7 separate regions of the Homo sapiens genome follow, and all the other regions are linked to region 4. The links are contacts of gene promoters, found by promoter capture Hi-C in blood cells and fetal thymus (Javierre and others, 2016). All regions are on one chromosome and are shown on one strand. Each heading gives the region's core, a stretch centred on a gene start or on the middle of the fragment in contact. The rest is flanking DNA. Distances are from core to core; before and after follow the strand shown. Region 1 overlaps CASP3 (caspase 3). Region 2 overlaps IRF2-DT (IRF2 divergent transcript). Region 3 overlaps CFAP97 (cilia and flagella associated protein 97). Region 4 holds the start of CDKN2AIP (CDKN2A interacting protein). Region 5 holds the start of SNX25 (sorting nexin 25). Region 6 holds the start of SLC25A4 (solute carrier family 25 member 4). Region 7 has its middle 13 kb from the start of CENPU.

The links. Contacts are between HindIII fragments. The CHiCAGO score rates a contact against its expected background, and 5 or more counts as called.
Region 1: a fragment that was not itself captured here is called in contact with the fragment with the promoter of CDKN2AIP in region 4 in 2 of 17 cell types (fetal thymus and naive CD8 T cells); the score reaches 6.1 in fetal thymus.
Region 2: a fragment that was not itself captured here is called in contact with the fragment with the promoter of CDKN2AIP in region 4 in 1 of 17 cell types (fetal thymus); the score reaches 8.2 in fetal thymus.
Region 3: a fragment that was not itself captured here is called in contact with the fragment with the promoter of CDKN2AIP in region 4 in 1 of 17 cell types (naive CD8 T cells); the score reaches 6.7 in naive CD8 T cells.
Region 5: the fragment with the promoter of SNX25 here is called in contact with the fragment with the promoter of CDKN2AIP in region 4 in 2 of 17 cell types (naive CD8 T cells and non-activated CD4 T cells); the score reaches 7.9 in naive CD8 T cells.
Region 6: the fragment with the promoter of SLC25A4 here is called in contact with the fragment with the promoter of CDKN2AIP in region 4 in 1 of 17 cell types (naive B cells); the score reaches 5.5 in naive B cells.
Region 7: a fragment that was not itself captured here is called in contact with the fragment with the promoter of CDKN2AIP in region 4 in 1 of 17 cell types (fetal thymus); the score reaches 6.5 in fetal thymus.

Annotation. Positions count from the first base shown.
Region 1 is chr4:184,644,977-184,648,300 of GRCh38, reverse strand. All of the region lies in intron 2 of CASP3 (caspase 3), which reads left to right. Among named protein-coding and RNA genes, the nearest start is that of CASP3, 2.8 kb to the left of the region's middle. RefSeq lists an enhancer at 3,305-3,324. The HindIII fragment of the contact is 2,145 bases long and covers 784-2,928 here.
Region 2 is chr4:184,476,023-184,479,807 of GRCh38, reverse strand. It overlaps IRF2-DT (IRF2 divergent transcript), which reads right to left. Exons shown (of 1, transcript NR_186573.1): 1 at 2,504-3,785. Among named protein-coding and RNA genes, the nearest start is that of IRF2-DT, 3.1 kb to the right of the region's middle. The HindIII fragment of the contact is 7,393 bases long and covers 1-3,785 here.
Region 3 is chr4:185,184,866-185,188,578 of GRCh38, reverse strand. All of the region lies in intron 2 of CFAP97 (cilia and flagella associated protein 97), which reads left to right. Among named protein-coding and RNA genes, the nearest start is that of CFAP97, 17 kb to the left of the region's middle. The HindIII fragment of the contact is 2,607 bases long and covers 1,126-3,713 here.
Region 4 is chr4:183,442,580-183,446,261 of GRCh38, reverse strand. CDKN2AIP (CDKN2A interacting protein) reads right to left here and starts at 1,626. Exons shown (of 3, transcript NM_017632.4): 1 at 1,193-1,626; 2 at 597-727; 3 at 1-174. The coding sequence starts at 1,464. RefSeq lists an enhancer at 1,172-1,321 and a silencer at 1,602-2,151. The HindIII fragment of the contact is 3,011 bases long and covers 1-2,902 here.
Region 5 is chr4:185,207,885-185,211,511 of GRCh38, reverse strand. It overlaps SNX25 (sorting nexin 25), which reads right to left and starts at 1,914. Exons shown (of 19, transcript NM_001378034.2): 1 at 1,257-1,914. The coding sequence starts at 1,685. It also overlaps a transcript of CFAP97 not described here. RefSeq lists silencers at 1,106-1,295, 1,366-1,525, 1,636-2,215. The HindIII fragment of the contact is 7,757 bases long and covers 1-3,627 here.
Region 6 is chr4:185,141,079-185,144,812 of GRCh38, reverse strand. It overlaps SLC25A4 (solute carrier family 25 member 4), which reads right to left and starts at 1,547. Exons shown (of 4, transcript NM_001151.4): 1 at 1,330-1,547; 2 at 1-49. The coding sequence starts at 1,440. RefSeq lists a silencer at 1,476-1,775. The HindIII fragment of the contact is 6,667 bases long and covers 1-3,734 here.
Region 7 is chr4:184,744,948-184,748,344 of GRCh38, reverse strand. No RefSeq gene overlaps it. Among named protein-coding and RNA genes, the nearest start is that of CENPU, 13 kb to the right of the region's middle. RefSeq lists an enhancer at 501-1,002. The HindIII fragment of the contact is 1,742 bases long and covers 716-2,457 here.

The sequences.
Region 1 (3,324 bases), core at 607-3,106, 1.2 Mb before region 4:
CTCTTCCCTGGTCTCTCCACTTCCAGACCCGCCTGCTCCTTTGCAGTCCACTTTTTACAGCACAGGCAGAGGGATCTTTATGAAATGAAAGTCTAGAAAGCTCGTCCTTTGCCCTTAGGTTAAACCCAGCACTTAATATGGCTAACAAACCCCTGCGTGTGTTGGGTCCTGAGTGCCCCCACCCCTCCTTATCTTTAGCACCGGTTCGATTTCTGCACGGCAATGCTGACCTTCATACCTAGTGTCTGCCTGCAACACCTCTGCACTCCCTTTCTCCCGCCATCACATTTGATTAGAAGAGCTGCTACTTAAATTTCTGTTTTCATTAAACAGTTTAAGGTTAAATCTTCCTATGCTGTGTTCTTTCTGCAGCCAGCATTCCCTAAGAGAGATGTGTCATATCCTTTGCAGTTGCTTGTTTACTATCTTCCCTGCTAGATTTGCAAGCAAACTCCAGGAGGGACGGACTTGGTTTATCTTGGTATCCTTAGTGTCTTGCCCCAAATGCGGGGCCTGGCATAACACAGTGAATGCCCATCCATTGTATTTTTACTTTTATGCCCTATCTAGAAAAAGTAGACCTGGTTTAGGATTATTCAGCAAATAATAATTAGAAAAGAAATGGTAGAGGTGACATACGGAGTCACTGAAACGATGTAAACCTGCAAGATAGCTGAAAGAGGGCCAGGCAAGGTGGTTAGACCAGACTGTATCAAAATGGGCTCAGCCACTGTGAATGTGCGTGCTGTGGTTACATAATCTCTAAAAATGAAATATAAAGCTTAAATCATCTCTATCACAGCCCGATGCTTGGACTTTGGTTTTGCTTTGCCTTTTTGCAAAAGAAGGTTTTTGAAAGTGAAAATTATTTTAGTGAATGGATGAACAGTTTATTGGAGTATGGCAATAAAACCTGTTCAAAGTAAGAGACATTAGACATTGTACCTAGTTAAATCAGATTTGCTTTTGCTATCCTGAATAAAGGCCTTGCCTCTTGCCATTTGAAGAGACTGGCATCTGATATAGGCAATTATAATGCTTCTTTACTGTTTTGTTTTCAAACCTCGTTTAACACAATCTCCTACTGCTTCATCCCCCTACAAAGCAGTCTTTATTTTGATGAATGATATATTACATTGCTTCTGGTGCCTACTATTAGATCTTTAAGCTCTGCCCCAAAGATAAGAAGCACTGGTGTTTGGGCCTAAACAAAGATGGGAGAATTCTTAGATTTATATAATATTCTTTCTCTGCATGTTTTGTTCTTACCTTCACATGTTGCCTGTAGAGCTTCTTTGCATTACAATAATGAAATCAAGCTACCTGATATGTATTGGACACGGTCTGGCATCTGCCTTGTTGAGCCACTTTTGAATACCAGTGAGCATCGGTATAAGCCCTGAATAGAGATAGGGTTTGTCTCTTCCACTGCTTGATACACTCAGGGTCTAGTATAGTACTCTGCACACAGTTGGTGTTCAGTAAATTGTTATGGTGCAAATATCAAATGAATAAATGCTACTGAATCTGAGTTTTGGCAGTTTCAGTCTTCCTGACAGCAGGATTTCTTCAAGCGGTTTTAAACTTGAATCTGATTCTGCAAAGTAGTCATCCTTGGTGGGAGTGCTGAGGCTTTAAAGTCATCTGTAATTTTTATAAAAAGGCATCCGAGATCCTCCATTTTACACTTATATCATACAAATCATTTAGATCTGTGAAGGCTTTCCCATTTTCTCCTTTTGTCCTTCCAAAAACACCATCTTAGGACTTCACCTGGCACAGGGAAGACAGATCGTTTGCACATACTAAGTGCCCTTCTTTCTAACTTGTGTCATAAACTCAGAGGCTTTGAATAGTGGAGAGTGCTCTGTACTGTCTTCCTGGTCACGTGGCCCTTGCCAGAGGAAAGGAAAGGATGGTTTGTTTGTATAGTACAATGGAACTTATTTCAATGTATTCTGTATTTGATTTTACATTCCTGTTCTCATATTTTTACCTTAATTACATAACAAATATTAAAAGATTGACTTCACCAGGCCCAGTTACAATCGCCAGTTTGATAATTCTTATACGTACTCAAATGAATTCAGAGACCAGATGGGAAAAGATTTTGATAAAACCTCTGGTACATCACAACTGAAGTCTTTTCTTGTCCAAACTATTGTGAAACAGATGTTCTTTCTGTTTCATTTGCTAAATCTGGAAACGTGACTGCTTTTGAGACTTTGTCCTCTCTGACAGGTAATAAATATAATCCTGATATTTTTCAAGTTGTTTGACAGAAGTGTAATCTCCCCAGAAGTCCTGCTGGACAGGCTTCACTTTTCCTTTGGAGGAACACAGAGATACAGGGAATATGTTTTAATGACATATACCTAACGCTGAACATGAAACCAGTTATTTTACTTTTATTATTATTATTTTTAGAAACAGCCTTGCTGTGTCACCCAAGCTCAAGTGCAGTGGTGCGATCATAGCTCACTGCAGCCTCCAATTCCTATGCTCAAGTAATCCTCTTGCCTCAGCCTCCTGAGTAGCTGGGACTACAGGTGTGTGCCACCATGCCAGGCTACTTGTTTTTACTTTGTTATAGAGATGGGGTCTCTCTGTGTTGCCCAGACTGGTCTTGAACACATGATCTCAACCATTCCTCCCACCTTGGCCTCCCAAAGTGCTGGGATTACAGGCGCGAGCCACTGTGTCTGGCCTATTTCACTTTAGAAGTAAATTGAATGCCACATGCGAAGTTTGTTAAATTTTTTTAAAAAAGGAAAGAAAACACAAAAGTAAACTACCTAGTCGCATCAGAAATGCCATAGTCATTTTTGCCATTTTTTCATTCATTAGAATTCAGTGCATTATGTTATTTTGTTATCTCTGCAGTAACTTTCTATCATGTTATTTATTTTCTTTGTCTTATTTAAAGCTTCTGAGATTATGGATTTTTGTTTCCTTCCCTGAAGTTAAGTGTTATCATTCCTATATAGTACTAAGCTGTCTACAGAATAGTGGGAGTCTGCCCTCTTGAGTTGGGAAGATCCTAGTTTGAATCTTGGCTGTGCGACTTTAAAGTTCATTAACTTCTCTTAGCCTCAGTCACCTGAACTCTGCAGTGGGGATCCTTATGCCTCAGAGTGTCATTGGGAGGACTCACGAAAATACGCTTGTACTTTGAGTTCAGTACCTAGCCTGTATGAGCCAGCATTAAGAGGGACAGTCATCACGCAGCGCTTTGCACACAGCTCTCACGCCACATCCTTTGGCTACTGTTTTGGTAAATCTTTACTAGTAAATGTTTCTTAAAAGCATTTACATTCATGGACA
Region 2 (3,785 bases), core at 190-2,689, 1.0 Mb before region 4:
TCACCCAAAACTGAGCAATGTATTACTCAATGTAAACTCATGATTTTCAGAAAATAGTTGCAACAAAATGACCCCCACTTCCTAGTTTCTTGTAAAATGGAAGGAACCATTACATAAAGTAACAGTCAAACATGCTCAAGAATTTTTCAACTTGAGGCCAATGACCTTTGAACTTTGACTGATGGTTTTTTCAATCCCATTGCTGTTCTATTGCCGCAAAAAATTTAACTTGGCTGTGTGTTTATTCAACTTGGACTTCACAATAATGTTCTTTGCAACTCAGGACTGTTAATCTGTGGCTTTTGTATTGGCAACTGTTCTGGCAAGGGTGGAACCCTCGTTTTCCATGACTTTCTAACCTCCTGAATTGCAGCACCTTGGAGGGGAGCTCCAGTGGCCAAGACAGAAGTGGTCCCAGTGATTCTGGGGAGAAAACTGAGCATCTGCTTGCAGACCTGGGGCTCCTGATTAAATCATAGCTATAAATACTTAGGTTTTCATTTATATGCCTTCATGTTACACATTCCTAAGTTGCATGTACAGTTCTGAAGGCTGTGATTACAGGTGGAGATGATGTCGGTGCCATTACTGGGATGCCACAGTGGAAATCAACATGTCAACCTACAAGACTGTAAGAAAACGTCTTAGAAGGCTGGCACTTTCATTCATTTGGTTCACTGCTGTATCCCTAGTGCTGGGAAATGTTCCTGAGCACTCAACAGATTTTATTTGAATGATCATTTTATGAAACTTTGTTTCAATTTTAGGAAACTAAGTTAAAAACCCATTTGAAAGGGGTCAACTTTGAATGTGTCTTTACATTTCTTCCTTAGTTAAGATCCACTCAAGGAGAGATCCGGCACTATTGTGCTCAAGTAATATTGTCTGCACCCGACTCCCCTGAAAAGAAATGAGTCCTGAGGCAGCCAGGCAGATCTTTTAGGATATTCCATCCCACAGGTGAAATACAAACATGCTTCATCCAGGAGATGACTCTAGTTTCACTATAAAAGACCCTTCAACTTTTTTCACGTTAGACTGAAGTGTTTGGTCAGATTTCCTCAGTATGACAAAGGTTACTCTTTTTTTTTTTTTTTTTTTTTGAGATGGAGTCTCGCTCTGGCTCTGTCGCCCAGGCTGGAGTGCAGTGGTGTGATCTCGGCTCACTGCAAGCTCCACCTCCCGGGTTCATGTCGTTCTCCTGCCTCAGCTTCCCGAGTAGCTGGGACTACAGGCGCCCACCACCACGCCCGGCTAATTTTTGTATTTTTAGTAGAGACGGGTTTTCACCGTGTTAGCCAGGATGTTCTCGATCTCCTGACCTCATGATCCACCCGCTTCGGCCTCCCAAAGTGCTGGGATTACAGGCGTGAGCCACTGAGCCTACTTTCTTACCCAGGCTTCCAAAAAGGCTGGAGTTTCCACAGAGATTTATTACTATATGCATCTCATCAAAGGGCTAAGATACTTCTTGACTGTGTATATCAGTACCATGTGGCTGTTTTGGTTCATTTGTACATTTTTGGTTTGCAGTGACATGTCATCAAGGGCCTAAGAACAGAAATTCATTCTGTCTATGTTTTATGAGTTTAGGGGCCTGGAAAATTGCAAGCAACACCCATGCTTCAGGGAGGCCCCAGGACTCAGGAAAGGGGGCAGTCTGTGAGTCCTCCCAGTTTCCCAGCTAATCAATGAAGTGAACAGTGCAAGGCTGTGGAAAAGATGTTCTCTCTGACTTGGGACATGTATAATTTGTTGCACCTGAGACATGTGTAGGAGTTAATGTGGTCAGAGCTCAGAAGTTACAGATTTTGGAGTCATCAGCAAATAGTGATATCTGAAGCCCTGGGCGTGGAGGAGAACACCCAAAGATAAAGCATGTAGAATGAGAAAATAAGAGGGTTGAGGATAGAATGCCTGGAAACACCATAATTTAGGGGGCTGGCAGCAGACGAGGAACCGGCCAAGAACTAGAATAGGACAGCAGGCTGTCACATGGGCATCGTGGAGAGCAGCCTGCACAGTCAGCATTCTTAAATCCTACACACAGACAGAGGAGATGCGGATTGGAAACGGTCCCTTAGAAAGATCACTAGAAGGAAATACATAAAAATATCCACAGGTCTATTCCTGACTAGTGAGATGTCAGGTGGCTTATGTTCTTCTCTCACCATTCTTGCATCTTCCAAATTCTGTACAAGAAACATTAATTACATTTATATTAAAAAGCTATTAAAATATAAAACAAGGCTCTGATCAAGTCTAAAATATTTTATGAGAGCCTGATGAAAAGAGCAAGTAATTATTAATTCACAAGTATTTCAGTGCCTGTGTGCTGGGCACCATGCTAAAGATAAAACAATGAACAAGAGGACAGCTCTGTTGTTTGACAAAAAGGAGCGGAGGCTGGTTTGGCAAGGGAGGGATGTAGGGCTTGTGGGACACAATGGCAGGAGATGAGGCTGGAAAGGTCGTTTGGTGCCAGATTACAATGGACTTTATGTGTCTTGTCAAATAATATGGTCTTTATTCTGAAGGCTACAGAGAGGCTTTTGAGGGGGGCAGTGTTAGGTTTGGAATTGTGCTTTACCTGAAGTTAATTTTCGACTGGATTTTGGCAGTAGTGTGGCTGCTGGCCTGGGGGAGTCCAAGCAGGAGACCAGGAGCACAGGCAGCAGGCAAGTGCAGTAACTGAATGAAGGCAGTGCCCTGAGCACGGGCCAGGCCCAGAGATATTTAGGGGTAGCGTCAATAGGATATGACTGATTGGATGTATGTTGCACGAAGTAGGGCATTAAGAAAAAAAAGGAACAACAAACTTCTTCCTGCTTATCAAAGACCATAATGAGGGCAATGGCCTTTCCTGAAACACGTTCCTTGGGAAGTCAAGCATGAGCATCACAATAGTTTGGAAGCTATCTGCACCCAGCAAGTGAGTTTCCAGTTAGCCTCACGCATGGCAATAGGTGCTTAGGATGCAGGATGCAGGTTCGTGGCCCCGGCCCTGTCTGGCTCCCCTGAAATCACACCACAGAGGCAGCTGCCTTTCGTAAACACAAGGCAGGCAGTGTTAGCTGGTCCAACTAGACCTCATTCTTTCTTTCACCTGGGGCCTGTGCACGGAGGCTGCTGACATGAGTGGACTCCCACGTGTGTGGTGAACGAGAAGTTCAAAGTGACACTTTGCATTCTTCCCTTCTTCTCCACTCTCCTCTTCCCGCTCCAGGAAAAATAAAGGAAGATGATTGTTTTGGTACAGGAAAAAAAAAATGAATACTAGGTTTTTAACTTGTGTCCCGGGTTGGGTAAAGAATGACAACTATTCTATAGTTTGTATAGACTTTCCCTTAGTGGTCATTGCTATATGACATAAGAAAGTCAGTGCCTGGGCCAGGCACTGTCACAGGCCTGTAGTCCCAGCTACTTGGGAGGTTGAAGCAGGAGGATCGCTTAAGGCCAGGAGTTCAAGGTTACAGTAAGCTATGATAGCACAACCTGAGTGACAGAGCAAGACCCTCTCTTTTTTTTTTTTTTTTTTTTTTGAGACAGAGTTTCGCTCTTGTTGCCCAGGCTGGAGTGCAATGGCACAATCTCGGCTCACCACAACCTGCGCCTCCTGGGTTCAAGCAATTCTCCTGCCTCAGCCTCCCAAGTAGCTGGGATTAGAGGCATGCGCCACCAAACCTGGCTAATTTTGTATTTTTAGTAGAGATGGAGTTTCTCCATGTTGGTCAGGCTGGTCACAAACTCCCGACCTCAGGTGATCCTCCTGCCTTGGCCTCCCA
Region 3 (3,713 bases), core at 1,180-3,679, 1.7 Mb before region 4:
TGAGGTCAGGAGTTTGAGAGCAGCCTGGCCAACATGGCAAAACCCCGTCTCCGCAAATAATACAAAAAATGAGCCGAGCGTAGTGGCACACGCCTGTATTCTCAGGTACTCGGGAGGCTGAGGCATGAGAATTGCTTGAGCCTGGGAGGCGGAGTTTGCAGTGAGCTGAGATTGTGCCACTGCACTCCAGCCTGGATGACAGAGCGAGACTCCCATCTCAAAAAAAAAAAATGTATATATGTGTATATATATATATGAAGCCAGGTGTGGTGGCACATACCTATAATCCCAGCTACTTTGAAGGCTGAGGCTAGAGGGTCCCTTGAGTCCCACCTAGGCAACATAGTGAAACCCTGGATGTTATTATTAAAATAATAATAATAGCGGCCGAGCACGGTGCTCACGCCTGTAGTCCCAGCACTTTGGGAGGCTGAGGCAGGCGGATCACGAGCTCAAGAGATCAAAACCATCCTGGCCAATGTGGTGAAACCCCATCTCTACTAAAAATACAAAAATTAGCTGGGCGTGGTGGCAGGCGCCTATAGTCCCAGCTACTCAGGAGGCTGAGGCAGGAGAATTGCTTGAACCCAGGAGGTGGAGGTTGCAGTTAGCCGAGATCACGCCACTGCACTCCAGCCTGGCGACAGAGCGAGACTCCGTCTCAAAAAAATGATAATAGTAATAATATCTGAATTCCTTGTTATTGCCTAACAGACTCCAGATCAGTAATTCTCATCCCAGGCAGTGCATTAATATCACCTAGAGAACTCTTAAAACAAATACTGATGCCTAGGCTCTGCACACAGGGATTCTGATGCATTTGGTCTAGTATGCTGTTGAGATTGGTGACAACCATTGCTGTACGTTGTATGGATATTGCTGGCCTTTTCGACCTGATGTTGAATTACTGAGTTCCAGTCACACTTTGTTGTTGTTGCCGCTCCTGTTGTAAGGACACTCCGGGTTTTTTCCCGTTGGTGAGGCACTTGCATTGCTGTGGCCCTTTTTCTTTGCAGAGGGCTCTGCTTCTCCCTGTTTCTCAAGTCTCTGCCAGGGAGAGCCTTTTTCTAGACATCTATCTTTGGGAGCTTTACACTCCCCATGCCTCTCTGTGTCGCAAAAGCTTGTTTCTCTCCATCGGGATACTTACTAGACTCTGAAATTAGTTAGTTTGCTTGTGTGTCCCATTGCAGTGAATGAAGGCAGGATCTTATTTCTTGTTGGAATTTCCAAATACAGGCACATAATAGACAGTATTTGTAGACTGAAGGGACTGTCAGGAAACTGCTTCTGTTGCACAGCTGTGCTGGTTAGGAAACATATTTCATATGTTCATGGAAATTTCATTTTATAACAGTTGCCCATTCCTGTTAAAACTTGCCATCTGAAATACATAGAATAAGTCTGTGCATCCTTCTGCATTATAATCTTTAAGACATTTGATTAATATTCTCCCCTGGGTAAAATCTCCAATTTTTAATCAAGCCATCTGGGGTAACAATTTTCTTGTAATTCTTTTTTCTTATAATTCTTATGGCCACTTTCCAGTCTGTGTGTTCATTAGTTAAGCTAGAGCATACGATTCGCTAGGTGGATGATTTATTGGGTTGACAGACAGCAGGCTGCAGCTCTCTCCTGCTCTTCTGGATTTCCAGCACCAACCTCAAGTGCTCTAACACAACGATTTTTAAACATTTTGGTCTTAGGACACTTTTACATTCATAAAAGTTATTGAGGATTCTGAAGAGCTTTTGTTTATATAGGTTATAGCTTATATCTGTAAATATTTACCATATTAGAAATTACACATTTTTAAAATATTGATTTGTTTAATAGTAGTAATAAACTCATTATGTAGTTGCCATATAATGTAAGTAATGTATGTCATGAAAAAGGTGTATATCCAAAAAAATTAGTGATTTTTGCTAATCACTAGCATCTGGTTTAATAGAATGTAGCTGGATTCTCAAATCAGCTTCTGCTTATAATCTATTATAATCTATATATCATTGGCTAAAGGATGTATAGAAAATATGCCATATGCAAAATGTTCAAAAATGAAGGAGTATTTTAATAACCTTTTCAGTTACTTGTGGATTTTTTTATACCACAAGTCGTATTTTCTTTTCTGTTGTTGTTGTTTTTTGAGACAGAGTCTCACTCTGTTGCCCAGGCTGCAGTGCAGTGGCGCGAGCTTGGCTCACTGCAACCTCTGCCTCCCGGGTTCAAGCAATTCTCCCACCTCAGCCTCCTGAGTAGCTGGGATTACAGGCGCCCTCCACCACGCCTGGCTAATTTTTGTATTTTTAGTAGAGACGGGGTTTCACCATGTTGGTCAGGCTGGTCTGGAACTCCTGACCTCAGGTGATCCACCTGCTTCGGCCTCTCAAAGTGCTGGGATTACAGGTGTGTACCACCTCGCCTGGCCCACAAGTAATAGTTTCTTAGATGTTAGTTGCAATGTGAAATCTGAAATTAATCTCAGTTAACTTTTAATCGTGAATTTCAAGTCTGTTATGTTAAAACATATTGATCTTTCTTGATTGATTTTTAATGTATATTTTACCTATGCCTGGTTTTGGAATGTGACATATTGGGTATTTGGAAAATATTGTTTCACTGAGCTTACAAATGTTGGCAGGCCAGGTACAGTGGCTACGCCTGTCATCCCAGCACTTTGGGAGGCAGACGTAGGCAGATCACTTGAGCCCAGGAGTTTGAGACCAGCCTGGGCAACATGGTGAAACCCTGTCTCTACAAAAAATACAAAAATTAGCTAGGCATGGTGGTGTGTGCTACTGTAGTCCCAGCTGCGGGGGGAGGTTGAGATAGGAGGATCTCTTGAGCCAGGGAGTTGGAGGTTGCAGTGAACTGAGATCACGCCACTCCATTCCAACCTAGGAGACAGAGTAAGACCCTGTCTCAAAAAAAAAAAAAAAAAAAAAGGTTGGCAAATTTCAGAATACATTATATAGAAATCATAGTTGTTAATATCACTACCAGCCTCATCAGAAAGCTCTTGAGAAGCTGTCAAACTCATGGTGGCAGATACAAGTTTACCTAAAATACTATTTTTTGCTAAAAAGCTCAAATTTTATTATTGGTAATAAATACTGTCAACTGTTTTCCTTGAAGTGACAGAATTGTTCTTTAAAATTATATTTGTAATGCAAAAATTGGATGGTGGTTGAAATTAAATCATAAAATATCATGAGATAATGCAGATTGCTCACTAATATTGTGTAATAACATATATCTTGATATATTTGCCTTTTTTCTTGTGCATCAAATTTCTATTGCTGCATTGCTCTTCGTTCATAATTCTTACTGTGATTTGTATGTGTTGAACCCATTTCCTGTTCAGAAAAAAAAAAGTACAGCTCACTGCCAGCACTCATTTCTTGGGGCAAATGGGAAACGTGTTAAAAAGTTGCAGCCTATTGTTTGGCATTAAAAAGTATTGTTCTTATAAAATTAGGTTAAAAATGGGTTGAAAAGAGAAATGTTCTAGAAGATAAATTAAAATGTTCAATATGTCTAGTGGGCTTTATTTTTTAAATATGGGCTTGTTTGACTAAATCATAATTTTTATTTTTAAGGGGACACTTCCGTTTTTTAAAATCTTGTAAGTACTATTTGTTCCCACAAATTATAAACCCCACTGTATCCTAGGAAAGAGGATTAAAAAACGAGCATACAAAAGGAAGGTATTG
Region 4 (3,682 bases), core at 377-2,876:
TCCGAGCTGAGTTCCCACTCTCTGATTTGATGGCCGACCCTATACACGTTGAACTGTTTTCCTGCTGAGCTGATGCACGTTCTGTCTTGGCAGAGGTTTTTGCGTGATCTTGCTCAACTGCAGAACTGTTTTTTCCTTCTATAACTCGTTTTTTGGATGGCTCTTCTACCCCTTCTAAAAAGAAGAAAAACATAGATATGTGACTAAGAATACCTCGTACAAAACGGGTGATGAGACAAATACACATTAAAATAAAGGCACAAAGTGAAAACATTTCAAGACTAATCGTTTCTTTAAAAAGTGTGGAGTCATTAATTTCTTAAAACAGTGTTGAATAACATCATGAATGTCTAATATTAAAAAAATAACAGCATCAGACAACAGTGGACACTTCAAAATCTAAAGCAGTCAAAGCAAACTATCAAATTCAAAGCCTAAAGACACAGATATATACTTTAGGTTTAACATTCCAACTTTATTACTTATTAATAACATAAAAATTCTGGCTTGTTAAAAAAATTAGTAACAATAATTCCTAATTATATCAAACTTATGCTCTAAACTCCTATGTATGTTCACATCTATGATCTGCTAACCATTGCTACTCGATATCCCTCTTTTCTTCACCTTGGCAACCAGTTCATCTCTTGTTGTATAGGTTGGAGCATCTGTCACTTTGATGCCTTCAGCCATACTAAGTATTTTATCCATAACTTTTTGAGGGTATCTGAAAAAGAAGGAAAAGTCATTTTTAAAAAGTGTTTTTTCTAAGGTCCTACTTGTGCAAAAAACAGGCCACAGGGACTGCATTTCCTGGCTGCAATCAAGAAAGTGAACCAACCGCCAAGAACTGTTTCCTGGAACCCCATAAACAAGTGCCCCAGGGTCTGGGAGGCAGGGCACCTCCTCACTAATCTTAAATCTCGCACCCGTCCCCAAGAGCGTTGTTCCCTAACACAAGCAACCCTACCAGCAGCTGCGCCCACACCACCGGGCACACAGACGTCCGGGAATCATGTCGGCTCCTCGCAGGGACGCCCTTCTCCCCCTTAGAGGGCAGCCGGGCCGGCGGATTCCCGCGCTTCACAACTTCCCCTCCCCGCCGAGGCCGGTCCCGCGGAGGGCGCCGGGCCCCGGTCTGCAGGTGGCACACAAAACGAGGCGTGCTGGTTAGGGACGCTGCCTCACTCACCGGCACCCGAGGAAGACGTGGTTCGCCCAGGCCATGGAAAAGGAGATGAGCTGCTGCAGCTGCCGGTTTCGGGTCCCGCTCTCGGCGTCGGCAGCTTCATCCGTGCTAGCGGAGGCAGCGCCGCCAGCGGGGGCCAGGTCCCCGGCGTTGCGAAGCAAAAAATCCCGGCGGTGGCGCCAGTGTTTGTCAGTCTCGCCGTCGCAGCGCAGCGCCTCCACCCAGGCTGCCACCCGCGGGTTCTGGCTCAGGTACTCCGACACCTCCTGCGCCATGTTGGGCCTGCAGGCCGCGAACACAGCTGCACCGGGAGACAGGCAGGACTAGCGGGGCGAGCGGCCCTGTCACTGCGGCCTGCACCCGCGGCCCTCCAGATAACGCCCCTCCGCAGGCCTAAAGACCAAACAACAGCGCCCAGAGCCGCCGAACCGCCCACTTCCGCCCACCGCCGGCTTCTTCCCTTTTATAACCTCGCCGCCGCCGCGCGCCCTCGCGTTCTTCCGGCGCGAGCCGGCGCTCCCAAGACGCTTTGCGGCGCCGGGGCCGCTGCGACGCTGCGTCCCCGTGAGGCCACGGAGGGCACCCCGGGGGTGAGGTGGGCGGGCGTCGGGCGTCTCCCGCCCCACGAGGGCGGACTGCAAGTCGAGCTGGCCTGGGACGACCGAGTCTCGGCGGAACCCCGGGCGTTCTGTCCTCGCTTTGTGACGCCGCGCGCTCCTGCCGTCCTCCTCCCCCGCCGGGTCAGCTGCGGCGCCGGGAGCAGAGGCGAGAGGGGCAGGGCCCGGGCAAGGGAGGCAGCCGGGCGCGGCGGCCAAAGTCCGCTAGGGGGGCGTCCCGGGGGACCTTGAGCCGCCCGCAGCCGCGGGGCCTGTGGTCTCCGCCCTGAGACGCCTGTGTGTGAGCGGGGCCAAAACAAACAAAAGCCGGCCTCCATGTTAGAGTGTTGGGAGCTGCGTCTCGCGCTGCTTTCAGTGTGCCCGAGCGAAGCGTTCCGAGGCCGTCGGGGTCTCCGCGCCTTCAGGAGGGCGGGAGTGCCAGTCCCCTTACATAGCAGCAGTAGACAGTAAGGTCACACGAGGACCTGGCTCCGTGTTGCCGTGAGGCTTGCAGCCTTCGAAGCTGGCCCTGGCCCCGCAGCGGTAGGGCTTGTTCCCGCAGTTTATTAGGTCTCTAGTTAATCCAGGCATTGCCTTCCTGTTCTGGTCAGTAGGAAAACAACACCCCGACAACGCTCTGTCTCTAGAATTTCCTAAAATCAACAGCTTTACCACCAACCGGCAGATGTCCGGAGGTGGAGTGGAAATGTACCTATTTATCTATAGGGCCCCAAACCTCTCTCCCTGTTAGAGCTGTTTTTTCCTTCTATATATTTTTTTCCACTTTACATTTCCCACAGTTACGTACTCTAACTGCTGGCTGGCTTATTGTTACGTTTCCCATTCCAGGTATACATGCACTGTAAGATAAATACGTTAAATGATATAAATTATGAAATTTTTCTTTCAATAAATGTAGACTTTGATGTAAAAATGCATGAATCAGAATAAGCAAGCAAAAAAAGGTCACTTTAGGTAAGATCAGATAAGGTTAACTGTGTAATTTATGTGCATGCTGGAACAAAATACAGCTATTGTATGAAAACAATATTGCCCATTTTCCTGCCATACCAAAAGAAACTACATAAAAACGGAGGCACAAAGAAATTTTGAAGCTTTGTGATTTTGCTTCTAGTTTGCTGTTCTTTCCTCCTTTTCACAGATAATTGCTGAAAATCTAGAGGGGGTGGACGGATTGCAGAAATCTGGCTATTTAAAAGGTGGAGAAATTACGATTTCTCCTTTCATGAATTCTTTGGCAAGGGGACCATGGCAAGTAAAAGAAGCTATGATCGCATACCTAGATTATATATGTGCATTTTAAATCAAGAATGTTCTCACGGCCAGGTGCAGTGGCTCACGCCTGTAATCCCAGCACCTTGGGAGGCCGAGGCGGACGAATCATGAGGTCAGGAGTTCGAGACCAGCCTGGCCAATGTAGTGAAACCCCATCTCTACTAAAAATACAAAAGTTAGCCAAGTGTGGTGGCACGTGCCTGTAGTCCCAGCTACTCTGTAGGCCGAGGCGGGAGAATCGCTTGAACTCAGGAGGCAGAGGTTGCAGTGAGCCGAGACCAAGCCATTGCACTCCAGCCTGGGTGACAGAGTGAGACTTCATCTCAAAAAATAATAATAATAATGTTCTCACTTTTTTTCTTGTTGCCCTGTAGTCTTCTTCCCACTCATGGGCTTCATTGCCTTGAAAGGAGAACAAGTAGAGCCTGAATTTCAAACAATTTTTTTAATTATAATAAAAGCGATAGAGTCTGAAAGATGGAGTACTTGTGCAAAAACCAGGTGCTTGGAATAAAAGATACATGCATTTTTCTTTTTTGATTCTTAAAAAGTTGACTTTGCATATAAAGATTCAAAGACTATGAACCACAAGTAGCTGGGA
Region 5 (3,627 bases), core at 665-3,164, 1.8 Mb before region 4:
TAGTAAAATCTCAGGGTCCTTACTTGCCATGGTAGAAAAAAAGAGGAGAGACATATCTGCTCCGCAACTCCTGCTAAATGAGATATGAAAAACGGATGGCTAAGTGGAGATTTTGTAAGAGAAACCAACTTTACTAATTTTTGAGACCACTTCTAAAAACAGGAGTTGCCTGCTCCTTAATATACTGCCTTGTTTATCAGCCTACTGAGCGAAATGTCTGTTACCTACTAATGCCTTCCGCCATTATCTCAGCGCTGCATTCTGAACTAACACACTCAGAGTAGTTTGGTGAAGTGTGGTGCTTTCTTTTAAAATAAAGGAGTGAGCAGGTCATGTGATAAGCAAATACAAACCCTGGGGACAAATGATCATTAACAAATATTCTTATGAAGTTGAGCCACTGCCATTTATCTTACCCCAAAGCGCTTGGGCAATTTCATTAGAATGATGGTATCACTCAGTCAAGCAGTGAGTGTTAAGCTGGGATAGAATAAAGTTCCCTTTAAAGGATTATGAGAAGGAATGTGGAAGAAAGATGGGGCAGTGGGTTTGGCACTGAAGAAGAGAAGCGCTCATTTAAAACACTGTTCTTTCCTACATTCCCTAACCCCCGCCCTAGTGTCCCACAGCGCGCTGAGGATGGCTTTCCTTTTGTTGCAAACCAGTGATTTCTGGCATCCCCCTTCCAAATCACAGAAGCCAGCGGGGACTGCACAACTATAATACGTATCCGCATGGTGGAAGGCAGGATAGGGTGGTGGGAAGGGTACGCGGGCTTGGGGGTGAGGCGCTGGGCCAGGGACCGAAGCAAGTTTCCTCATCGGCAAACGGTCATAAAGTTGCCTCCCACCGAGAACGGCCAGAAGAACCAAGCGGATCGCCAGGACCGTGCGCAGAGCCTGCACGTAGCGAACGCTGTGATTCCCTTCTTCCCCTCCCACGGCAAGCGACACCGAAGGTCTGGGGACACCCTTAGGGTTGTGACTGAGGATGGTTGTCGAGTGACTACAGAGCCCAGTAAATAACGCGCATCTCCTCCAGCACCGCGGAGCGCGGAGCCCGGAGCCCGGAGCCCGCCGCGCGCGGGCGCCGGGGAACGCTCGCGTCCACGGCCGGGCCCGCAGCCCAGCCCCCTGGCTCCCGGCTTCCCGCTTCGACAAGGGCATGCCGCGGCCCCCCGGAGCTCGGGGCGCGGGAGCTGGCACCGGAAGCGGGGAGGGCCGGCGGAGCTGGGCGGCCAGGAGTCGGGTACTTACCCCCGGCGGGCGGCGGGCGGCTGAGGTCGCGGCCAGCCGGCTCCAGGCGGCGGCGAAGTCGGGCGGCTGGGCGCGCGGGCTCCGGCAGACGAGGGCAAACAGGATCCCCAGCAGGAAGGCGGCCGCCGCGCAGCTCAGGTACAGGCTGAGCCTGAACAGGACGGAGCTCAGCCCCGCGGCCCCCGCCGCCTCCCCGCTGCCGGGCCCCAGGAAGGAGAGGGCCACGGCGGCGAGTGCGGCCACCGCCACGGGCTTCCACCAGCTCCGGCCGCCCGGGGCCCCCGGCGCCGCCGCTGCTGCTGCCTCCGCGTCCCCCGGGGACTCCGGCCGCCGCTCGCCCCTGAAGCCCGAGACAGGACGGCCGCCGGCGCCTGCGGCCCGCGCGGGGCTGGGGCCGGCGCCGCCACTGTCGGTCGCATCGGGGTGCATGCTGCTTCCTGGGCCGCTAAGGACAGGCACATCTCCTGCCCCCCGGTCCCCCGCCGGCGCTCCGGAGGCAGGGGGAGCCCGCGCTCATGCCTCGCCCGCGGCCCACCGAGGGAGCGGCCCCCGCAGACGCCGCCGGGCCCCTCTCGGCGACCCCTCAGCGCCGCCACCAGGCGCTGGGCCCGTAGCTGCCGGGCCGGGCGCAGCCAGGGAGCCCCACCGTGTTGTGACTGAAGCCTGGCCAGCCTGACGCGGGCGGGGCGGGGCCGCCCTGAAGTGCGTGTCGGGCGGGGCCCGGAGCCACCGCGGCCGCTGAGTGACAGCCGGGAGGCGCCCACCCACAGCGCGGGGGCGGGGTCCGGGCCGGGGCCCCACGGGGAGAGGGCGCGACCCAGCGCGGTGCACACCTCTCTTTCCCACGCTCCCCTCCTCCTCTACAGGATGCCGTCTGTTCATGGAAAATTTTGCTGCAGGTGTCAGCGGCGCTGGTAATTCCTGAGCTCAGGTGATCCCGTAATTCTCCCTCTCCGCTCATCACTGACGAGTAACCTCTTCGCTTTGCTTACAGCCGGCAAACATTTCTGCCTGGTTTTCACTCGCTATTTAAATAGGCAACCGTTCCCGAGACTCCCTGTCACAGTTTCTAACGACCTTCCCTTTCCCACCCTGCCGCCTTAGGGAAGGAATCAGACACGTGCGGTGGAGTAAGTGAAGCCTGCAATTCCTAGCTATGGAAAGGTCCAAAGAAGTCGGCCTGGTGCAACAGGGTGCACGCAGCTGCCCATAATCACTTTGGCTCCACTTCTGGTTTTTGTTTTGTTTTGTTTTGTTTTTTGTTTTTTACCAACTATTCAGTTCAAATGCTATCAGCCACGCAAAGGAACGTGGTCCAAATAATTTTTAGAGTATATATTTGCCTTTTCTTCTGTCATAGTCCCAGCCAGTAATATACAGATAACGCTTGCTAAGTAGATGCCAATATGCTACTTAAACACTGGCAATTACTGCTAAGACTAATAAAGAAGCAGATGTAGCTTTTGCTTTTAGTATCAATTGGTATTCATGGGCATTTCATTCTTTCTTTCTTTCTTTTTTTCTTTTTTTTTGAGACGGAGTCTCTGTTGCCCAGGCTGGAGTGCAGTGGGGCGATCTCGGCTCACTGCAATCTCTGCTTCCTGGGTTCAAGCCATTCTCCTGGCTCAGCCTCCCGAGTAGCTGGGATTACAGGCACGCACCACCACACCTAGCAAATTTTTGTATTTTTAGTAGAGACGGGGTTTCACCATATTAGCCAGGATGGTCTCAATCTCCTGACCTCGTGATCCGCCTGCCTCAGCCTCCCAAAGTGCTGGGATTATAGGTGTAAGCCACCGCGCCCGGCCTCATTTCATTCTTTCTTAAACCTTCTAAGTCAGAAATGAAGAGTGCCTCATGCTAGATGTGACTTTGCCATGCCAAGGGGATGATCAAAATAAGTTACCAGTTTCCTTTCTCCTCCTTTTTTAAGAAAATAGGGGCGGGCACGGTGGCTCACGCCTGTAATCCCTACACTTTCGGAGGCTGAGGCGGGCAGATCATGAAGTTAGGAGTTCAAGACTAGCCTGGCCAACATAGTGAAACTTGAACCCCGGAGGTGGAGGTCGCAGTGAGCCGACATCGCGCCATTGCACTCCAGCTTGGGCAACAGAGTGAGACTTCGTCTCAAAAATAAAATAAAATAAATAAAGCAGTATGATTAATTTTGAAGAAGCCCTTTTGCCTCTAAAATAGTTGTTAATTTTCACCCAATTGGAGCCCCTCAAAGTGTACCCTACCAACCCAAATTATTCAAATAAAGCACAGTGGCTTGTTATCAACAACAACCAAATCTATGTTTTTTGATCATTTACATGCCGAGGACTGTATTCTGAATTCTTTATGATAAATTTAAATTAATTTTTCAATT
Region 6 (3,734 bases), core at 298-2,797, 1.7 Mb before region 4:
TCCCTTTGTACTGCTTCTCAGCACTGATCTGTTTGCTGGCATGCTGGACCTGGTGGAGGGGAGGGTGGGTGACAGAGGACAGGCAGGGTAGAGAGAAGGGAAGAGGACAGGAGAAAAAAAAAGGTTTGCACTTCCTAGATTTTTTTTTTGAAGAAAAAAAGGATGAGGAAATCAAATGGATACTGAGGACGTGTAAATGGATACTGTTATCCATGTTAGTTACTGGATAACAAGCCAAAATAATCCAATGTTGCTTCAATTATTAGGGTATTTGAGGGAAAAGGTATTGCCCCAAATAAACTGAAAAGGTGATTGAATTATATAAAGCTATAGCCATTTATTTATTTCACTTTCCCTAGGTTTGAGAACTGTATGAGGGGCTTACTGGGGGACAGAAATGAGTAACACTCCCTGCTTCAAAGGGCTTTGGATTTAATAGACATGATGGCCAAAAAATGACAATTTCTCAGTGTCACTCTGATCACCCTGGAGATGAGGATCTCTACTAGATGCTCTAATAGAGGAAGGAGAATAAATCCACTAAACATTAGGCCTCCAAAGTTTTCAAGCAGATAATCCAAGTAATCAATTATTAAGGGTTTGCTGCCGTTGTGAGCAATTTGTGGGGGTTTTGTTGTTAGTAATTCTGACTCCCAAATTGGGCTCTTCCTCATTGAGGGGCCCTGACCTTTTGGGCAGGTGGAGGAAAACACGAGAGGATGATAAACCATTCAGCGACCAGGTAGGGGAGGAAAAGATTTGGAGACAGGATGATCTGAGTTTATTCCGAAAATTGTTTCTTAATATTTCAAAACCTCAGCTTCATCTGTAAAATGGAGAAGAATAACTCTCTCACAGAGGTTACATAAAGATGAAGGCGTCAGCCTACATACAGCATTGTGCATGAGATACGATAAGGGAATTCTTGGGTGATGATTATTTTGATGTTTTTATTGTAAAGGTGCGTGCGCATAAGACGGTGCCAAAAATACTGGCAATCACTAGGTGCCTCCGGGCCTGAGTGCACGCCCGTGCTGTCACGGGCGCAGGATCTGGCACACGTAAACCGGCTCCGGGTGGGTTTCCATATATAGACACCCGAACGCCGGGCGCCACCCGACACCAGGAATCTGCGACTGACGCTGGACCTGTCTCTACGCAGAGGGCACCTTCTTCCCCCGCGGGCGGGCGGGCGGGCGGGCGGGCGCCCGGGCCTGTGGCCTGGCGCAGATTTTCCGCGGCGCCCCGCGCCCTGCAGCTCGCGCCGCATCGCGCGCCCCGCCCGGCCCGCCGCGCCCGCGCCCGCCTCTTGCACCGCGCGGTCCTCACCTGCAGCAGCAGTTTGACCCTCTCGATGGGGGCGACCGCGGTCTTGGAGACGGCAGCGGCGACGCCCCCGGCCAGGAAGTCCTTTAGGAAGCTCCAAGCGTGATCACCCATGGTGACAGCTCGACGCTCTCAGCCCGCAGGCAGCCCGTTCGTGCTCTCGCCCACGCCCGGCCTGGCACCGCCGCGCAGTCCCCGACCCTGCGCGACGCTAGGGGGCCGCCGCCTGGCCCGCAGCTCCCCCTTATATCCCCGCCGGGCTCTCGCGAGAGGAGGCGGGTCGCGGCCGGCGCTCGCGCCGCGCATTGGCTGGGCAGGTGCGGGGCGCCCCCTCCTCCCAGCTGCAGAGGGCATCGGGGGCGAAGGCGCTTCCGGGAGCGAGGCTGGGCCGGGGGCTGTCCCTGCAACTTGGGACGTTTAAAGGGCACATTCATGTTATCTGTCCCGCCGAGCCCAGGGAACACCGTGTCACCGCGGCATGTGGGCCGCGTATTTATAGCACAGGCAGCCTTAGGCCGGGGCGAAGCCGGGGCAGACACCGGGCCGCTGCCGCCGGTGGAGAGTTCTTGACCCTCCGGCCTGCACGGGCCGCGCTCAGGCCCAGGGATTTCGAGCTGTTTCCTCCTTCTTGCATCTAAAGGCGCCCCCCACCAGAGCTCACTGCCTGGATATGGGCCTCTTTAGAGCCGTGCGCTCCCGAGAATAAATGGCAGTCCTCTCAAATAGATACTAAGGTCACCTGATGCTGTGATTGCCTCATAGAATCTGACAACCTGCTGCCTCTCATTTCTTTTCATTCAATCGTTCGTTCAGTCATTCATTCTGCTATTACATATTGATGTGTCTGGCACTCAGTGCCCACAGGAAAGACCTGGTGCAGGGGGCCACTAGGTGAATTCATACTTGTTTCTGCAAAACTCTGTGACTCTAAAACACAGGACACTTCTTTTGTAAGCCCCTAAAGGGTTCAATGTACCACTCTGCTCTCAGCGGAATTTCAGCACATATTAGGGCAGAATGTTCTGTCTGTCAGCCGGTGCCTTCTTGAGGGTCAGTGCTGTCAGCCTTCCGGAGATCCAGTCCTTGGCTGTATTTGCCTCTTTTTAATGACAGCTGGGGTTGAGGAAATGCTATTTAATCCCAGGAAATTAATTGCAATTAATTTCTTAAAATATATAAATCTGAGCTTTAATTTTCCTTAGCTTGTTTTTTAGGCAGTTCATGTAACCATACAGGTTTTCAAATACAACTGTTCCTTCCCCTAGAATGACTGCAATTCGTTTTTAACTTTAAACTCTTCACTCAATTATCTTCCCATGTTTGCTAATTTTCATTTGTACCTTTAACAAAGTTTATTCATTGTTTTATAAACTTTTTTTTTTTAATATTTGCTGACATCATGTTAGAGGTTTACGGAGCTGCAGCTGCGTGTCACCCTGGGCGTGGAGACTTTGGTATAGCAGAAGTCACTAAGGTTCCAGGGCCACAGAGGGCATGCGTTTATCTAAGAGTGGGGCAGGCTAGAGTTCCGAAATCCAGGTAAGCAGAATGAAAGCTAGAAACTAGTGGAAAGCTGCCAGAGGTCAGAGCAGACAGAAGTCAAGAACTCGGAAGAGACAAACAGATAAACCATGTATGTGTTCATTCAACAGACTCTTGCTGAGCATGTACTGTGTACCAAGAACTAGGTGTAGCCCTGTGGATTGAATATAAGTAGACGTGGCCCATCTCCAAAGACCTTACAGTTCAGTGTATTCGTCACTTGCTCCACTTTATCAAAACTTCACTTACTGATTTCCATGGATCAGCATAATCCACACAGTAAACCTTTTTAATTATAATAGTGTACTGTATCCCATCCTGTAATATAGAGCACTTGCTTTTATACCTCCATTTTCCTTTTAATTGTGCATTAGAATTGTGTCTTATTTTTATGATGAAAAATAGGCCGGGTGTGGTGGCTCATACCTTTGGGAGGCTGAGGCTGGCAGATTACCTAGGTCAGGAGTTCGAGACCAGCCTGGCCAACATGGCAAAACCCCATCTCTACTAAAAATACAAAAATTAGCCTGGCGTGATGGCTCATGCCTGGAATCCCAGCAGCTCAGGAGGCTCAGGCACGAGACCCCCGAGAGGCAGAGGTCATGGTGATCTGAGATCACTCCACTGCACTTCAGCCTGGGCAACAGAGAAAGACTCTGACTCAAAAAAAAAAAAAGAAAGAAAGAAAGAAAGAAAGGAAGGAAGGAAGGAAGGAAGGAAGGAAGGAAGGAAAACTAATACTGCTACATTGAAACTTACACAAACTTCATTTTCTCCTCTAAGTTTTTTCTTCTCATATATTTCCCAAATGGAATGGATAGATTTAAGATTTTTAAAGTTTTGTAGCTTTTGCTACATATTGACAA
Region 7 (3,397 bases), core at 337-2,836, 1.3 Mb before region 4:
GGAGAAGTTCCAGGGCTGCTCCAGGCAGCCTCAGCCACCAGTTCCTGTTGCTGCTGTCTCCTATTGGCTACCGAATCTGGCCACCTCTCACCATGCTCCATTCCCACTCCTTAGGGCGGAGGCCACGTCTTGCCAGGACCATTGCACCAGCCTCTTAGTTGGCCCCCTTGCTGCCTATATTGGTCCCTGCTACTTTACCCATTCTGCAGCAAGCAAGATTTTTCTAAATCACAAGTCTTACCATGTGATTCTCCTGCTTCATTGTCCAGAGGCTTCCTATTGTTCCCTAGTCTGAACTGCTTAATGGAGTGAGAGGGGGGGGCTTCTCGAAATTGATTGTGCATCTAGTCACCTCAGAATTTTTTTGTTTTTTTTTTTCAGACAGGGTCTTGCTCTGTTGCCTAGGCTGGAGTATGTGGTATGATCACAGTTCACTGCAGCCTTGACCTCCCAGGCTTAAGGATTCTCCTGCCTCAGCCTCCCAAGTAGCTGGGTCCACAGGCGTGCACCACCAAACCTGGCTAATTTGTTGGTTTTTTTGTTTCTCACCACGTTGCCCAGGCTGGTCTCAAACTCCTGAGCTCAAGTGAGTCTCCAGCCTCAGCCCCCTAAAGTGCTAGGGTTACAGGCATGAGCCACCTTGCCCAGCCACCTGGGGATCTTAACATGAAGATTCTGATTCACTAAATCTGCAATTCTGCATTTCTAACAAGCTTCCTGGGAACACCAGTGCTGCCGGTCTTTGTGCTACACTTTGAGGAGTAGGGAACTGAAGGGCCCCTGCTTGCCTCCCTGGCCTCATTTCTTGACACTTCCCCAACTCTGTTCCAGCCATGCCTCAGTTATTCCAGCTCCCAAAGTGCATCCTGCTTTTGCTCACTGCAAAGCCTTTGGACAGGCTGGCCTCCCTCCCCAGAGCACTCTCACCCTGGCCTGGCTGCTCCTACAGGATTGGAGATGGCACTTTGCTTAGAAGCCTTCCCTGATTCTCTAAGCCCTGGAAACAAAGAGCATGTTTGTGGCCTGGGTGAGAATGATCTTTATGCTCAGTGATAAGGGGTGAGAGAGCTGGCCTATAAGGTGCAGGGCAGCAGCCAGAGGTTTCGTTCTACAGCAGGTTCTATGAAGAAAGTTGCTGCGTCACCTGGGAGGTGCCTCTGCCAGGTGCCATCTGCTGAGTCCATTCCTGCCTGAGCAGTAAGGGCTCCTGAGGTCAGGACACTGGCCAAACAAGGTCAGCCTCACAGCTGTGTGTATTCTCAGGTCAACCAAAAGTGCTGTCAGAGTGAGCAAGTTCATTACAGAGCTGTGAAAACCTTTTTAAGAAAGTTCTTTTCCAACCACAGCTTGAGGGAGAGTTACAGACACAAGACTCTGCTGTAGACATTTTACTTCTTATTTTTCTGTCCTTATTTCCTTAAAAAAAAAAACACCTTTTCTCTGGGATGTCCTTCCATTTTCTCTTTCTCAGGTTATGCACTCGGTTTTTTACATCTGTTTCAGTTATAAAATTACTGCTTATGCAGGTTGGAAGTCTGCCATTCCTTGGCTAAAGAAATCCTGAATTTTGCTAGCATGCTCCTGCCAGGATCCCAGCACCAGACTCTCCTGACCCTTTGGGGAGCTGAGAATGGAATCTGAAGCATGAGACATTGCATGGTCATGATGTACTGACCAGACCTGTTTAGCCATGTGATTGCAGCTTGGGTAGGAGCAGTGCCAGTTAGGTCTGGAAAAACTAAAACAACATTAGTTACACAGCAAATAAGTTTAGCAGCCGGGTAACAGCACCCAGGAAATGTTGAAAAGCATGTGACATAAGAAGAGATCTAATGTCGTTGTTTGCTACAAAAAATCTTTCTGCCCTCTAACTGTAAAAGGCGAGGAGTACTTCCTTTCTGGATTTTATTTCCTCTTTTTCTTAAAGGGAACATCCAAAAGAAATGATCCTCCTCTGCTCCCCCATGCCTGCCCTCCTGGGATGTGTTAAGTCTGTTTTGTAGTGTTATAGTTACAGAGGTTGAACAACGGGTCTGCTTAAAACAGATAACTTCATTAAACTGCCAAGTTGAGTGAGATATTCCTGTGTACTCAGTAATTAGTAACTGCTGTAGGAAGTTATATAAGAAAGTGGGAAAATTTGAGACATCAGTTCTTTTCCTCTCCGTCATAGAGAATCATACTCTGCCTTATGGGAAATTGACAGGAATGGACTGGATAAATTGTGGAAGAATATCATTTATGTGAAAGAGGAAAAGGGTTAAGCAAGGGCAACTAAAATGTCTAGCCTTATTCATCTTCTTGAACTGACTTTGAAGCAGTATTTACAACGTCTGAAAGTGAGGCGCTCTGTGCTCCAATGACATCGTCGAATCTCCAGGCCCTTTCTTCATCTGCCCCCTGGTGGACCCAGTGCTGAAAAGAAAATTCAACAGAAAAGCTCCCTGGAGAAAAGCTTGAGTCCAATAAGAAATGGCACCCCTTCTGTGTATCGAGGGGCCTCTACATTCTTCTCTTATCTTCATGAGAATCCTGTAAGATACCAAATAATATTCTCACTTAAAATCAAGCTAATGAGGCCAGGCGCGGTGGCGGACACCTGTCATCCCAGCACTTTGGGAGGCCAGGGTGGGTGGTTCTCGAGCCCAGGAGTTTGAGACCAGCCTGGACAACACGGCAAAACCCTCTCTGTGAAAAATACAAAAATTAGCCAGGCCTGGTGGCATGTGCCTGTAATCCCAGCTACTCGGGAGACTGAGGCAGGAGGATCGCTTGAGCCCAGGAATTTGAGACTGTAGTGAGCTATGAAGTCATCACAGCACTCCAGCCTGAACAACAGAGACCTTGTCTCAGTCCAATCAATCAATCAAAATCAAACTAACAATTCCAAAACATGGAATTCATATATACATCAACCTCCATCACAGGGAAGATATAGTTCCACATGGAAGTGTCCAGGCCCAAGCACTCAGTTTATCCCAAGCCTCCCTAAAGTTTTGTCATTATTTTCTATAGTTGGTATAATCAAAGCAATAGTTTTTTTTTTCCATTTCCCAAATATGAAAGCATATAACTTAAGGACCCACCACCTAGGTGTCCTCCAGTGTCCTGAAGCCTCTGGTCCTCTGGTGTCCCTGACGTTCCTTGCAGTTGCTCACATTGCTCCAGGTCACCTTTAGGACTCCTGACCCCGCTGCCTCCACTCCTGCGTTTTCAGCCCATCCCTTCCAACAAGCATGCTTCACCCCACCCTGAACACTATCTCGTTAATGGCAGCGAATCCACACAGGTCTGCAGCAACCTCAGTTCTTGCTTCCTCAGAGGAAAGAATTTGACCAAGGGGCATAAGGCAGAGCGAGAGACAGAGGCAACTTTTAGAGCCGAGTGAAAGTTTATT